2 separate regions of the Homo sapiens genome follow, and region 2 is linked to region 1. Evidence: promoter capture Hi-C in 16 types of primary human blood cells and fetal thymus (Javierre and others, 2016). All regions are on one chromosome and are shown on one strand. The core of a region is centred on a gene start or on the middle of the fragment in contact, and the rest is flanking DNA. Distances in the headings are between cores, read along the strand shown.

Region 1 (7,694 bases), core at 3,039-5,538:
CCATAATTTGAATGTCATCAATTTTTTTTCATTTACAAATTTATGCAACTTTACAAGTTGCATAACAACTTATAAAATGTTCTTATGCTATAGCTTCTTATGCTATAGCCATAAGAAGTTTATGTACAGTTGCAACATTTGAATAAAAATAAATCAATACTGGGGTCCACACAAATTTTTTTCCTTTGAAAGAGAAAGGAAAATTGCCAAATCTGAAACCATGCCTTACACAAGATTACTATATGCTGAGCAAATGTTTTACTTACTTTACTAAATCCAAGTTTCCACGGATGTGTACCTAAAATCTCTTCTATCTCTTTCAACATCTCTTTAGAACCTGACCCTATGATCCATTTAAAGTGTCGAGGCAGAAGAACTGGAAGGAATTCCATTATCTTCGGAAACTGCAAAGCTGTCATTACATTTCTAAATGGAACTACAAGATATCAGAAAGGAACAAAGTAAAACATAAATGAACCCAAAGAATGACTGATTTGAAGTACTTTCTCATTTTGCACAACCGATTCAAGAAACCCAAGTCAAAAACAGATTAGTACACTTGCTTTAACCAGTAAGAAAATTTTGATCATATTATGACAATTGCTTTTGTACTGAGATGGTTTTCATTGTGTTTAACACCAAAATTTATGTTCTTTAAATGCTTAAATAATGATTTCTTAGCCTTTTGTTTCCTACTGCCTGCACTATAACAGAATAAAAATTCTGACTCAATTATATAAAGATAAATTTAAAGCTAAGGATATAAAATAATTTACATAGTAACCTTCATAATCATTTTCTATAATCATAATCTTTTGTCATTGAAATCATTCATTGATGTACCATCAAATTTATTTGATACAATTAGGAAATGAAATATTCCATATATATGAATATCCAGATAACAAATCATATTAAAAATTACTTGAAACCATTTTGGACTGAAGTATTTCCTAAATGTATTATTCACATCCTTGTCGTTCTTCTCTACCTCTTTAAACAGAATCATTTACAACTGATTTTTTTTTTTTTTTAACTGAGACGGTGTCTCACTCTCACCTAGGCTGGAGTACAGTGGTGCAATCATGGCTCACTGCAGCCTCCATTTCCTAGGCTCAAGTGATCCTCCTGCCTCATCCTCCCAAGTAGCTGGGACTACAGGTATATATCACCACACCTGGCTAATTTTTAAAAAATTTTTTGTAGAGACAAGGTCTCACTACATTGCTCAGGCTAGTCTCGATCTCCTGCGCTCAAGTGATCCTCCTGCCTCAGTCTCCCAAAGTGGGATTACAGACGTGAGCAGCTACCACACCTGGCCAGCAACTGAATTTTTTTTTATTAATGATTCAAGGTAATCGCTGTGAATACAAAAGTTAGAAAGAGAGATTAAAATCACAGTTTTAGAGGTGGAAAGGAACTGGAAGATTTTAAAGATCAGCTCATATAATCCCTTCATGCTACAGATGAGAAACCTGAAATGTCAATGGCATACTCCAAAAGCAACATAAACACATTTTTCACCAAATGGATTTTTAAAAAGAATACTATGCTAGTGGTAACATTTTAAACACTGTAGTTATTAAGTATGTCAATTACACTGAAAGTTGATGATAAAAATCACACTTACTTGTGTTTTCCAGAGGAAGACTCATCTCATTGTCTAGGAACAACTCTTCCTGACCATTCTGTGTAGGCTGCTTTTGATCTTTCCTTCCAGTTTCCTTGTGGAAAGTTCTTAGTGTTTCCCTAAGATTTTCAAAGTTTAGGTTTTTGTAGTTTGATACCTCCTTTACCCATGTTAAAAATTTATTAACATCATCACTGGAGACCTCACACTCTTTAAGAAAGAGAGCACAGATATGTTTTTGATTTGGTGGTGACATATCAGACTGCAAAAAGTAAGACGGAAATCCTTGAACTTGATATTGATAGCTCCTTGATCCCACCACAGGCTTTACTTGTACCTTCACTCTCCACCAAGCACCTGTTATCGGAAAACGTCCAAACACTTTACATGTCTCTTGTGTGTTTTCATCACAAATAGAAACTAAAAAAAAACAAACAAAAACCCACAAAAGTTAACTCTGGAGATTATTTAGAAACCGTTTCCTCAAAGTTTCATCAAACTTACCACTATCTTTAATCTCCCTACAGCACTCTCTAAAGATGTCTGGTAGGGTGCCTGTAACACTGCATTCTGCCTACCTCTTTTTCTGTCTCCCTCCACTACACTGTAAATACTAAAACAGGACACTGTTTCGTTTGTCTTTGTATTCCAAAACGCAAGCACAGTACACAGCAGGTGTCTGCTGTTCCTCTTCTAAAATCAGTCCCCTCTCTGCTACTCTTGACTTCAGCCAATACTGGCCTTCATGCAGTTTCTTTAAAATGCCATGGCCCTTCACTCAAGTTATTCCATCTGCCTTAACTGATCTCCCCTTTACTGTTTACTACATTTACTACAGACCTCAGCTTAACTATCACTTACTTAGAAAAGTCTTCCCTGAATCTCATGTATAAAACCTCTCAAAGCACTATTTAGCATTCCTTCTAAGCATTTAGTAACATTATAGTTACTTCTGTGATTAAAGAATGTTTGTTTAATACACTAGAGGGTAAGCTTCATTAAGACTGCAACCTTGTTATTTTATTTCTCTAGGTTTTCCCAGCACCAAACATGCTAGCCAGTTGATGATACTTTAGAATGACGACTAAGCCCTCCACAAATACTTGAAACTTTTCTGCCTAAATCTGCGCTGTCCACCCACGTGGCTATTTAAATTAAAATGTAATAAAACTTAAAATTTCTCTCCTCAGTTACACTAGCTGGATTTCAAGTTCTAAACAGCTACATATGGCTAGTGGCTATTATACCAGACAGTGCAGATATAAAACACTGCCATGATCATGGAAAGTTCTACTGAACAGCACCGGTCGGCACATTAAAATATTTTAAGTCTCAGTCACAAAGTATACATAACAGGTATAACTTATAGCACAGGAAACTACCTCATAGCACAGGAAACTACTTATACAAGGTTTACCCGAACCACAAGGTTACTAACACCAATTAACAATCATCTGTGCACTGAGGTGTTCCTTGTGTTTCGTTTTTCTTTTTCTTTTCTTTCCTTTTCGTTTTTTGAGATGGAGTTTCATTCTTGTTGCCCAGGCCGGAGTGCAATGGTGTGATCTCAGCTCACTGCAACCCCCACCTCCTGGGTTCAAGCAATTCTCCTGCCTCGGCCTCCCAAGTAGCTAGGATTACAGGTGTGCGACATCACGCCCGGCTAATTTTGTAGTTTTGTTGTTGTTGTTGTTGTTTTACTAGAGACAGGTTTCACCATGTTGGTCAGGCTGGTCTCGAACTCCTGACCTCAAGTGATCCACCTGCCTCGGCCTCCCAAAGTGCGTGAGCCACCGCGCCCGGACTGTTTTGTTTTTCCAAGAAGCTGAGGAAGAACCACGTATTTGACTCCAGGCAATATAGGATAATAATTACAAGTTCTCATTCTATAGAACTTGAGGATAAGTGGTCAGAAGGAAAAATAAAAGTTCCGATTCTGGGTGGAAATAGAGACTCAACATCCACTGTTTCCTTAAGCGTAAAACTACCTTACATTAAAGGTACATTAAATTAAAGGACGACCATTAAAATGAGAATAATTTTAAAAAAAAAAAAAAAAAAAAAGGGCAACCCGCTCGGGTCCCCTTCCACACTGTAGAAGCTTTGTTCTTTCGCTCTTTGCAATAAATCTTGCTGCTGCTCAAAAAAAGAAAAAAAAAAAAAAACCACATAGTATGTGTCCAGTTAAAGTCACTGCTATTATTATAGTCATAATTTTACCCTTGGTAGGATGAAGCAGCTAGACCACTGATAAGCTAAATCTGTTAGCACGACTGGGTGCCTTGCTCAGGGCAAAGCCAGAATGGGAAGCGCTACTTTGGACCCTCCAACCCCATCCCCCGGGCAGACGCCTTCCTCACCGCGGAGGCACCCGGGGAGGCTGCCAGCCTTTACGCCCCCACTGCAGAGCTCCTCGGCGTCGATGAACACGGACTCTTCATCCTCCTCCACGTCGTCGTTTAGGTAGTCGTCGTCCTCCTCCACCAGATCCCTGGGTGGGAGCAGAGGTCCCTGAAGTTGGCGCAGGTACGGACTCGACCTGGCCATGCTTCTCCTGAACTCAACCCAAACAACTCGGGAAAACCCTGGCTAACTGCATGGTCATGATCAGCCAATCAGTTCTACGACTGTAAGGCCATCAACTTCCGGGAACGGCCTGGCGGCCGCCAGCGTACATAAAACCTGAAAGGCAGCGAAGCTCCGCCCCAAGTTTCCAGGAATTGCCGAGGGGAGGGCATGTGGAAGGGGCGGGGCAAGGCGGGTTAGGGGCGGGGAAGGGAGAGCGAGGGGCTGGGAGATGGGCGGGGCTTCCGCTCCTTTTGGAGCCTGGTGCTGGGCGGTGATTATCAGGAAGGTGCTGGGACGAAATCAGCGCTGGGGAGTGACAGGCGTGGCACCTGCAGAACCGCCAGTGCACGGCATCTCCTGCGGAGAGAGAACGGGGAGAAAGTCCACTTCTGCTGAGCTTGAAGAACCTGGAAAAGCAACCCCCACCCCAACCTTCCCAAAACGAAAGTATAGCAGATGCCCTTCTGGAATCGGATCTAGGGCAGGGACCTAGAATTCTGTCTTTTTAATGTACATTCCGGGCTGTCCATTTTGATGCTCAGCTAGGTTTGGACACCACTGGATTAGATAACATTCAAAGTTATTTTTATCCTTTCCTCTGTGAGTACACCCTGGTCTCCCAAACTTATTTAAGCTGGGCTGCTACCTGCTGACAGTGGGGCAAAAGTGTCTCTTTGCAGCCCAGAGTATAGACAGGAATAGGAGAAGGGAAATAGAAGAGAAAGGAACGTGGTTTTAAAAACTATTATGGGGCTATGATTCTCTTACTTGATGAGGATGGTACTTGAAAGTCTTGGTACTATTTAAGAAATACCATAAATATATTACTACATTACTGTATTGATACTGTTTATTTTGGGATTATTCCTGAAATAACTAAACACACACTATTTACTAAATCCAAAAGCACCTGATGCTATATTTAAATATATATAAACGACAACTAGCACCAAATATTTAAGAAAAATGTATAGGAGAAAATATAAAAATTGATTTCTTTTCCTTTGGGTACCAATTGAAAAATGCCCACTTTTGTTGCTTTTAAAAGAAATACTGTTGCAGCTGACAAAACACCAGTGTTTCCAAGGATTGGCTATATGAGGTTGAATTCCTTTGACATTCACATGGCTACTGTTTCCACCACAACATTGAATCTCCTCTGACAAATGTCACACTTACTGTCCTCTTCGTTTCAAAAACCAGTGGATACTTTTCAGCCTTTGTTTTACCTGACCTCTCAGCAGTATTTGATACTGATAAGTATTTTCTTCTTGTAGCATTCTGCTGCCGGGGCTTTTGCAGCTTGCCTTCTCAGATTTTTCTCCTTTCTGGCTATTTACAGTCTTGGACCCCTCTGCTTGCCTGTAAGTACTGTTATTCCCCAAGGCTCCATCCCAAGCATCTTCTTGCTCTATAATCCTTTCCTCAATCATCCTTCACCTACATGCTAATGACTCAGCCTAATCTGATCTCCAAACCATACAAACAACTGCCTAAACACTGTCAGTCACTACTGGATGCCCCTTGGCTACTTAAGACTCAGCATATCTAAACTGCAACTTATCATTGGCTTCCCAAATCTGGGTCACTTATGAGTATATACATGGGATATTCTTGTTACCAACATGATGACTTGGGCACAAGAATCAACTCTAGATCTCTAGATGTTAAACTTTTTTTTCTTTCTCTCTTTTTTTTTGGGGGGTGGGGGGACAAGGTCTCATTGTGTTGCTCAAGCTGGTCTTGAACTCCTAAAGTCAAGTGATCCTCCTGCCTCAGTCTACCAAGGTGCTAGGATTACAGATGTGAGCCACTACACAGCACAGGTGTTCAACTCCTCCTCCCTTTTTTTTTTTTTTTTTTTTGGTACAGGTCTATAGTGGCACCATCTCAGCTCACTGAGGCCTTGACCTCCCAGCAGGCTCAAGTGATCGTCCCATATCAGCCTCTCAAGTAGCTGGGACCACAGGCTCACACCACTAAGCCCGGCTAATTTTTTGCAATTTTTTGTAGAAACAGGGTTTCGCCATGGTGTCCAGACTGGTGTCGAACTCCTGAACTCAAGTAATCTGCCGGCCTCGGCCTCCCAAAGTGCTGGGATTACAGGCGTGAGCCATTGCACCTGGTCACTATATGTTCAGCTTCTATTCATATAGTTCAATTGCATTTTATTGGATAGTGTAGATAGGAATTTAGGATGATAAGAATCTTACTTCTTTACCTATTGTTTTCTCATTCTTTTAAAAAAAAAGTTAACAATTCTGGCTTTCTGGATACCATCTTTACCATACATAGTAAGCAGTGGTACTCAAATCTGGCTGTGCATCAAAATCACTTGGGATGTGTTCTAAAATTGAGATACCTGGATCTACCCTGAAGCTACACTTCCCAAAACAAAAAACAACATAGACATAGGTTATCTACTGTGTGATTTTTGTAATAGCAAATTATTGGAAATAGCAGAGATGTTGAACAGCAAGAGACTAATGAAATAAACTGTAGTACATCCACACAATGGAGTATTCTTCAGCTATTTTTTTTATAAAAAGAAAGAAAGATTGCCACAAATTGGTAGGGAGTAGTTTCCAAGATACTGTTTTAAATTAGAGAAAGCAAGATGTAAAACAATGCATATCATTTTATTTGTATGTGTCAGTGTTACGAAAAAAAAAAAAATCACATGAAAGATAAACCACAAGTTAATGAAAATAGCCAGGAATGGTGGCTCGTGCCTCTAATTCCAGCACTTTGAGAGGCCAGGGTAGGAGGATTGCTTGAGCCCAGGAGTTTCAGACCAGGTTGGGCAAAATAGCAAGACCTTGTCTCAAAAAAATAAATAAATTAGCCAGACACAGTGGCGTGTGCCTGTAGTCCAGCTACCCTGGAGGCTGATGTGAGAGGATTGCATGAGCCCAGGAGGTTGAGGCTGCAGTGAGCCAGAAGAAGGTGAAGGAGGAGAAGGAGGAGGAGGAGGGGGAGGTGGAGGGGGAAGAAATTGATGAAAATAGTTACCCACAGAGGAGATGGAAACATGATAGGACAGAAAGGGGATACGGACAAGAGCTCTGAGATTAATTTATTATGTAGTTTGACTTCTGAATCATGTAAATGTTGTACACATTCAAAAAATAAAAGAAACAAAAGCAAAACAGAAAATTGAACACAAACAGAAACAAACAAATCTATCAAGTGAATTGCATAACCACTAAGAGAAAATAATCATTTCAAGTTATGTTTCAATACTTTGGGTAAATATTTTAAGTTATTCTAACTGTACACCCCTGGTAGGTTATACTCTGCAGACAAAAGATCTAAAAAATGATCTTAAACTTCACTCATTATGGTTAATGTTTGTTGTAATATTGTTAGTGTAATTTTGAAATTATATATTGTAGGATAAAGAAAATAAGTAAATGTATTCATATTTTATTAAAAGTTTTAAATGTACATGGAAAGAAATACAAATGTAAAATAAAATAAGTTGAAAAAAGCTCCT
Region 2 (7,694 bases), core at 3,821-6,320, 2.1 Mb after region 1:
ACAAATAAAGATATGTTCACAGATTGAAGAATTAGTATTGTTAAAATATCTATACTCCCCAAAGCAGTCTAGATTCAATGTGATCTCTATCAAACTTCCAATGGCATTTTTTTCATAGAAATAAACAATCCCAAAATTCATATGGAACCACAAAAGTCCTCACATAATCAAGACAATCTGGTTTTTTTTTTTTTTTTTGAGATAGAGTCTCGCTCTGTTGCCCAGGCTGGAGTGCAGTGGCGCAATCTCGGCTCACTGCAAGTTCCGCCTCCCGGGTTCATGCCATTCTCCTGCCTCAGCCTCCTGAGGAGCTAGGATTACAGGCACCCATCACCACACCTGGCTAATTTTTTTGTATTTTTAGTAGAGACACAGTTTCACTGTGTTAGCCAGGATGGTCTCGATCTTCTGACCTCATGATCTGCCCACCTCAGCCTCCCAAAGTGCTGGGATTACAGGCGTGAGCCACCGCACCTGGCCAATCAAGGCAATCTTGAGAAACAACAACAAAGCTAGAGATATCACACTCCCTGTTTTCAAATTATATTACAGAGCTATTCTAATCAAAACAGTGTAGTACTGGCATAAAAACAGACAGAGACCAATGGAAAAGAATACAGAGCTTAAAAATAAACCCACACATATATGGTCAACTAATCTTTGACATGGGCATCCAGAATACACAATAGGTAAAGGATGGTCTCTTCAATAAATAGTGTTGGAAAAACTAGGTATCTAAGGTAGATTACCTGCAAAAGGGTAAAATTATACCCTTACTTTACACCCTCCACAAAAATTATATTGAAATGGGTTAAAGACTTAAATATCAGACCTGAAATTATAAAACTCCTAGAAAAAAATATAAGGGGAAAGCCACTTGCCATTGGTCTTGGCAATGATTTTTCAGATATGCACCCAAAGTATAGGCAACAGAAGCAAAAATAAACAAGTTGGACTACATCAAACTAAAAAGCTTCTGCATAGCAAAGGAAACAATCAACAAAATGAAAGGGTAACCTATGCAATGGGAGAAAATATTTGCAAACCATATATCTGGTAAGGAGTTAATATCCAAAATACGTAAGGAACTCATACAACTCAAGAGCAAGAAAACAAATTGCCCAATTAAAAATTGGGCAAAGGATGCGAATAGACAGTTTTCCAAAGCAGACATAAAAATAGCCAACAGATACATTAAAACAAACTCAACATAACTAATCATCATGAAAATGCAAGTCAAAACCATAAGATATCACCTCACACCTGTTAGAATGGCTATTATCGAAAAAATGGCCAGGCGGGGTGGCTCATGCCTGTAATTCCAGCACTTTGGGAGGCTGAGGTGGGAGGACCGCTTGACACTAAAAGTTTGAGACCAGCCTAAGCAACACAGCAAGACTGTCTCTATTAAAAAAAAAAAAAAAAGGATAAGCAATAACAAGTGTTGCTGAGGGTGTAGAGAAACAGGAACCCTTGTACACTGCTGGTGGGAATATAAATTGATACAGCCATTACAGAAAAATAGTATGGAGGTTCCTCAAAAAATTAAAAATAGAACTATCATACGATCCAGCAATTCCACTTCTGCATTTATATCCAAAGGATTACTCACAATAGTCAAGATACAGAAACAATGTGTCTGTCAATGAGTGAAGAGATAAACAAAATGTAGTAAATACAAGACAATGGAATACTTACCCATAAAAAGTAAGGAAATTCTGACATTTGTGACAACATGGATAAACCTGGAGGATGTTACATTAAGTGAAATAAGCCAGACACAGAAAGACTAATATTCTATGACCTCACTTATATGGCGAATCTAAAAAAGTTGAACTCATAGAAGCAGAGAGTAGAATCATGATTGCCAGGGTCTTGGGGGTGGGGAAAATGGGGAGATGTTTATTGCACATTTATCAGCAATTAAAATGTTTCTTTTGGGAGCTAACCTATGAGAATGCAAAGGCATAAGCATGATATAATGGACTTTGGGGACTCGCAGGGAAGGTTGGGAGAGGGGTGAGAGATAACAGACCACACACTGGGTATAGTGTACACTGCTCAGGTGATAGGTGCACCAAAACTCTCAGAAATCAGTACTACAGAGCTTATTCCTATAGAAACCACCTGTACCCCCAAAACCATTGAAATAAAATTAAACAGTTTCTTTTGCTAGTTTGGTAGATGAAACATAGAATATAGTTTATTTTGCATTTCTTTGATTACTAGTGAGGTTGAGCATTAAAAAAGAATTACTTGAGTTTTATATTTCTTTTGGGACTTATATATTCATGTCCTTTTATTCTTGTTGGTTAGTAAGAGATCTTGATATGTTAAGTACATTAAACCTTTGTCTGACATACATTACAGATATCTTTTTCCCAGGATGTCATTTTTTTTTAATTATTATACTTTAAGTTTCGGGATACATGGGGCAGGTTTGTTACATAGGTATACATGTGCCATGGTGGTTTGCTGCACCCATCAACCCGTCATCTACATTAGGTATTTTATACAGTCAAATCAATCTCATCCTTTTTAAGTTCTTCCAATTCTTTTATATTTAGAAGGTCCTTCTCTATCTTTAGATCAATTAGTCACTTGTATTTTTTCTGGTTTCTGGTTTTGTGTTTTACACTTTTTTTTTCTTCAGGAAACAAGGTGACAGTCTATTTTCCCATGGTTAAGCATATTTCCTTCACTACTAATTGAGTATGTTTCTTCCCCACTAATTTATAATGTCACCTTCATTACCTAAGGAATTCTTATATTATGTGGGTATGTTTATGAGTTTTATAATCTCTTTTATTGTCTATTGGTTTTGGTGATAGTACCACACTTTTTTTTGATTACCTCTATTTATTCATCAAGAATCATCACACTCTCCTCCAGGAAGCCTCCTTAATTCTTCCAAAATGGTATGATTGCTCCCTTCACTCTCTGTCTTTCACCTTTGTCATGTTTAAAAATCTGCCTTGGCCAGGCGCGGTGGCTCACGCCTGCAATCCCAGTACTTTGGGAGGCTGAGGCGGGAGGATCACCTGAGGTCGGGAGTTCCAGACCTGCCTGACCAACATGCAGAAACCCCGTCTCTGCTAAAAATACAAAATTAGCAGGGCGTGGTGGCACATGCCTGTAATCCTAGCTACTCTGGAGGCTGGCCTTAGGCAGGAAAATCACTTGAATCCGGCAGGTGGAGGTTGCAGTGAGCTGAGATGGCTCCACTGCACTCCAGCCTGGGCAACAAGACCAAAACTCTGTCTCAAAAAAAAAAAAAAAAAAAAAATCTTCCTTGAAGCTGGGCGCAGTGGCTCATGCCTGTAATCCCAGCACTTTGGGAGTCCGAGGCGGGCAGACCATTTGAAGTCAGGATTTTAAGACCAGCCTGGCCAACATGGTGTAAACCCCAATTCTGTTAAAAATACGAAAATTAGCCAGGTGTGGTGGCACTGGCCTGTAATCCCAGCTACTCCAGAGGCTGAGGCAGGAGAATCACTAAAGCCTGGAAAGCGGAGGTTGCGGTGAGCCGAGGTCATGCCACTGCACTCCAGCCTGGGGAAAACTCCAGCCTGGGGGAAAGAGTGAGACCCTGTCCAAAAACAAAACAAAATAAAACAACCAAAAAAAAAAAAAACTGCCTTGTATCATTGTTAACAGGGTTGATCTTATCCAATTACATTCTTGAGTATAGGGAACAGGTGCACAATACCTATTCATTAAAATTAGATTAGTGGGATTTCCTTTAAAAGGTAGTGATGATGGCAGAACAGCTCTAGTTTGAGAAAAAACGAAAATAGGCAATTCTCTCATTTGTTCAACAAACATGGCTGCGCCGTCCAATATGAAAAGATTATAACTGTAAGTGAACCCTACTGTACCCTAGGGATCTCACCACTTGGGGAAAGAGATATGTAAATATATGCGATTAAATAGTGTGACTAAGAAGCATAAAATAAGTATGCACAAAGAAGAAAGGAAAAAACTATTGAGTAGTGGGTAGTGTTTCAAAGTAGTGGACATACAAGTATGAGCCGGGTTCATGGGGTTTCTTAAATGCCAAAGGAACTTGTAATTATTCTAAATGACAACGTGCACAATTTACATTAATGTATTCTTCATTCTGGCCAGGGGTGGTGGCTCACACCTGTAATCCCAAAACTTTGGGAGGCTGAGGTGGGAAGATTGCTTGAGCCAGGAGTTTGAGACCAGCCTGGCTAACATGGTGAAACCCTGTTTCTATTAAAAATACGAAAATTAGCCAGGTGTGGTGGCGCTGGCCTGTAATCCCAGCTACTAGGGAGGTTGAGGCAGGAAAATCGTTTGAACTCGGGAGGTGGAGGCTGCAGTGGGCCGAGATCTCACCACTGCACTCCAGTCTGGGCGACAGAGCGAGACTCCGTCTCAAAAAAAAAGAAAAAAAAAAGATAACTTTTTAAGGAAGGTTAATGCAGTTTGGGCCAGGGGCTCTACTTATTAGTTGCAGGGCTAACACAGACCCGGGAGAACTAGAACGGGATACAGGTGAGAGTTAACCGGTGGTGTGTGATGTGATGAAAACTAGGCAATGGGAAGGAGATCAACCTTTACCCGTCAGTCTTCTAATCTCAGCAAATCACTTCCATGAGTTGGTGTAGAAGGTGTCAGGGCTGACTAGGGTCCCTGCTGTGAGTGTGGGCACAACTCCAGGCACTTCCCCATCTCCCAGCCGGCCCAGCGAGGTGCCTGGAGAGCCCAGGCCAGATGTTCTGGCCAGGGCTGACGTCACGTTTGCATGACGTCACCAGCGCTGACGAACCACACAGAGAGGGGCCTGTCAGCTCACCTCAGAGCGCAGGCAACTTCTTAGAGCGGGGAACTGGCCGCCTCCTATTCTACCTTGACGGTCCGAATAGTCAGAGCTACAGGAGCCGAAGCGCCGAAGGAGCTCAGCAACCGCTACCTCCCTCTTTCCTTGGCCCTTATCCGCGTCTTCTCTAAGGCCCAGGAGCGGTCCCGGCAGCGGCGCGCTCACGAGTCCGCCGGTGGAGGCGGTCACGCGCACGCACGCTTGTGCGCAAGCCCGTTCCCTCAGAACCCGGAAGTGCGAGGCCGAGGAGAGCCACGTGGGTCGAGCTGGGGCGCAGCTCGCATGGGGGAGTCTATCCCGCTGGCCGCCCCGGTCCCGGTGGAACAGGCGGTGCTGGAGACGTTCTTCTCTCACCTGGGTATCTTCTCTTACGACAAGGCTAAGGACAATGTGGAGAAGGAACGAGAGGCCAACAAGAGCGCGGGGGGCAGCTGGCTGTCGCTGCTGGCGGCCTTGGCGCACCTGGCCGCGGCCGAGAAGGTCTATCACAGCCTCACCTACCTGGGGCAGAAACTAGGTACCTCCGCCCCGCCCCCCGAGCCCCTTGAGGAGGAAGTAAAGGGGGTATATTCCCCAGTCGGCAGTGGCTTGGGTTTCCCGTCTCTGTGTCACTTCTAGTCGCAGGCTCGACTCGGCATTCCCAGATCTCCTCCCACCGTTCCTTTCCTTCCCTGGGCTTCCACAAGCCCCGCCCACCGGCCTGCGCTGCTGATAGATTGGCGAACTGGGTAGATGCTCTTTGCAGGGCTGTGACCCAAACCGAAGGGTTTGCCCTTTTGCCTCGTGCATGGATTGATGCCATAAATGAGAAGTTAACCAAACTATGTCTTCATTGTTTTAATTAGTGACGCTGCAGCCAGAAGAGCAAAACTTTGCAAAACAACCTAGTTCTATTACTGAACACTGTTGTGTGGCCTCTTAAGGTTAAGGCCCGAGAGTCACATTTAGAGTCCTACCCCGTCTTCATAGTCCCCCAATACATATTTAATGACTAAAGTAATAAATGAATATTGGGCAGGAAAGGCAAGAAATATGCCTAACACTAGCAAGAAGAGACTTAAGGGGAAAATGGTAAACACTCTTAGCACTTCATGTACATCTTGCCTCTGAAATAAGATTCAAGAGCTGATTCAACTGATTTTTACTAGTAGAAGCAATAAGTATAAGTAGATGAGAAGGAAATAATAGATGTAAAAGGCATGGAATATGCATACAAAATAATATTACTGCTTAATTATGACAAATAAATATATTTGAATCCTAGGGGTTTCAGAGTCAGTACTTTGACCTGTTTTAGACTCTTCAATTTTCAGAAGCGTGAGGTCTGATGTGAATGAAGGACACGTATATAAAATACAGAGAATAGAAATGTAAAATTGGTGTAGATTTCATTTTGATCCACCCCCCCCCGTTCCCTAACCAGCCCCCTACTTTCCTTATATTGCCTGAAGGTGACCATGTACATCTTATTGAGCTTTCAGTAAACACTCAAGAGACAGGGCTTCCTGAGTTCGTAATTGCTGTAGCAAGTATGTTGATTTATACATACTTATTTAGTATGCTAATTTATTAGCAAAAACTGGTCAGATAGTTTCACCTTATTTTTTTCCTCCCCTTTTTACAATGGCATTTCTCACAAATTTGCAGTTGCTGCTATGGTGTTATTATTCCCCTTTCTATAGATTAGCAAATTATATATGCAGTTATGTTGGGTAGATGATAGAGTCGAAACCAAAATATCTGCCCTTGTACTCTCAGATTGAGTTTGCATTCATATAACTTATTAAAAATGTGTATGAAAATTATAATTTATGTATAATATATACAGATATATGTTTTTTATATATGTGAAAATGGGGTGGATTCTAGCTGTAATACTGAAGGTAGGTAATATTTAGGCAGTTTCAGTTGTTTTTAGACTCCCCCACCTCAAAGAATGGTGACTGATTCAAGTGCCATGATTCTTTGCTTTTTTTTTTTATTAACTTATCCATGGAAATTTGATGAAAGCTGTGTACTTACTCTCCAGAAAAATATATATGTACATATAATTTTGCGTATAACCTGAGTGGGTTCAGTTGAATTTTCTAAAGTCTATTTATTGACTCCATTTAAAAAAATCTGCTACTCTAGTTTTAAGTTGAATGAGCCAGGTTTTTACGTAAACAGAACTGGCTGCCCTGTGTGTAAGAATGTGTGTATAAGATCTTCACTGTCTCTGACTTGGGTTCTGTAAAGTGGTCCTCAATGTGTAAATTGATTAGTTCTGCTTGAACCCCAGCTGGCATGGGTGAGCATGAGGACTATGCCTTGAAACTGACCTATACAACATTTGGTGCTGTGAAACATGCCCAGGCACTGTTACGTTCCTAGGTGGGCTCCTCATTTCTGAGTAAATATTCTGAAAATGGTATATTTAATGCTTCATAACTTATTTACACGTACAGTAAACATAAGTTCCAGAATTTAAATTTTATCTTTGCACATTTTTTTGGGTACTGGAGTGTATATGATATCAGTGTGCTTACAATACGACTACACAATTACCCGGTTTACTATTTTCTTAAAAACTTCAGGAGAAAACTTTCGTGTTGCCATTTAAAACATTCCCATGTTCTCCAACTACTTTGCTCATTAGAACATTTATATAGTTTTCTTTAGAAAGCAAAACAAAAAGTTTATGCGTGCGTTTAAAAAATTTAAAACAATTCTGAAAAGTTTTTTTAGCCTTACTGAGATATAATTGACAAATAAAACTATATATATTTAAGATGTACAACTTGATGTTTTGATGTATATGTAAATTGTGAAATAATCACCACAATCAAGCTACTTAGTATATCCATCA

The links. The method cuts DNA at HindIII sites, captures the fragments that hold promoters and counts their contacts. A CHiCAGO score of 5 or more calls a contact.
Region 2: the fragment with the promoter of KICS2 here is called in contact with the fragment with the promoter of HELB in region 1 in 1 of 17 cell types (total CD4 T cells); the score reaches 5.2 in total CD4 T cells.

What each region holds. Positions count from the first base shown.
Region 1 is chr12:66,299,087-66,306,780 of GRCh38, reverse strand. HELB (DNA helicase B) reads right to left here and starts at 4,288. Exons shown (of 13, transcript NM_001370285.1): 1 at 3,991-4,288; 2 at 1,631-2,050; 3 at 267-436. The coding sequence starts at 4,177. RefSeq lists enhancers at 2,958-3,267, 3,298-3,397, 4,029-4,108, 4,169-4,218. The HindIII fragment of the contact is 5,857 bases long and covers 3,734-7,694 here.
Region 2 is chr12:64,219,672-64,227,365 of GRCh38, reverse strand. It overlaps KICS2 (KICSTOR subunit 2), which reads left to right and starts at 5,070. Exons shown (of 3, transcript NM_152440.5): 1 at 5,070-5,363. The coding sequence starts at 5,129. LOC124902952 (a long non-coding RNA gene) reads right to left here and starts at 5,017. Exons shown (of 2, transcript XR_007063347.1): 1 at 4,823-5,017. RefSeq lists enhancers at 4,617-4,676, 4,757-4,946, 5,097-5,186, 4,668-5,262, 5,297-5,356 and 1 more. The HindIII fragment of the contact is 7,597 bases long and covers 976-7,694 here.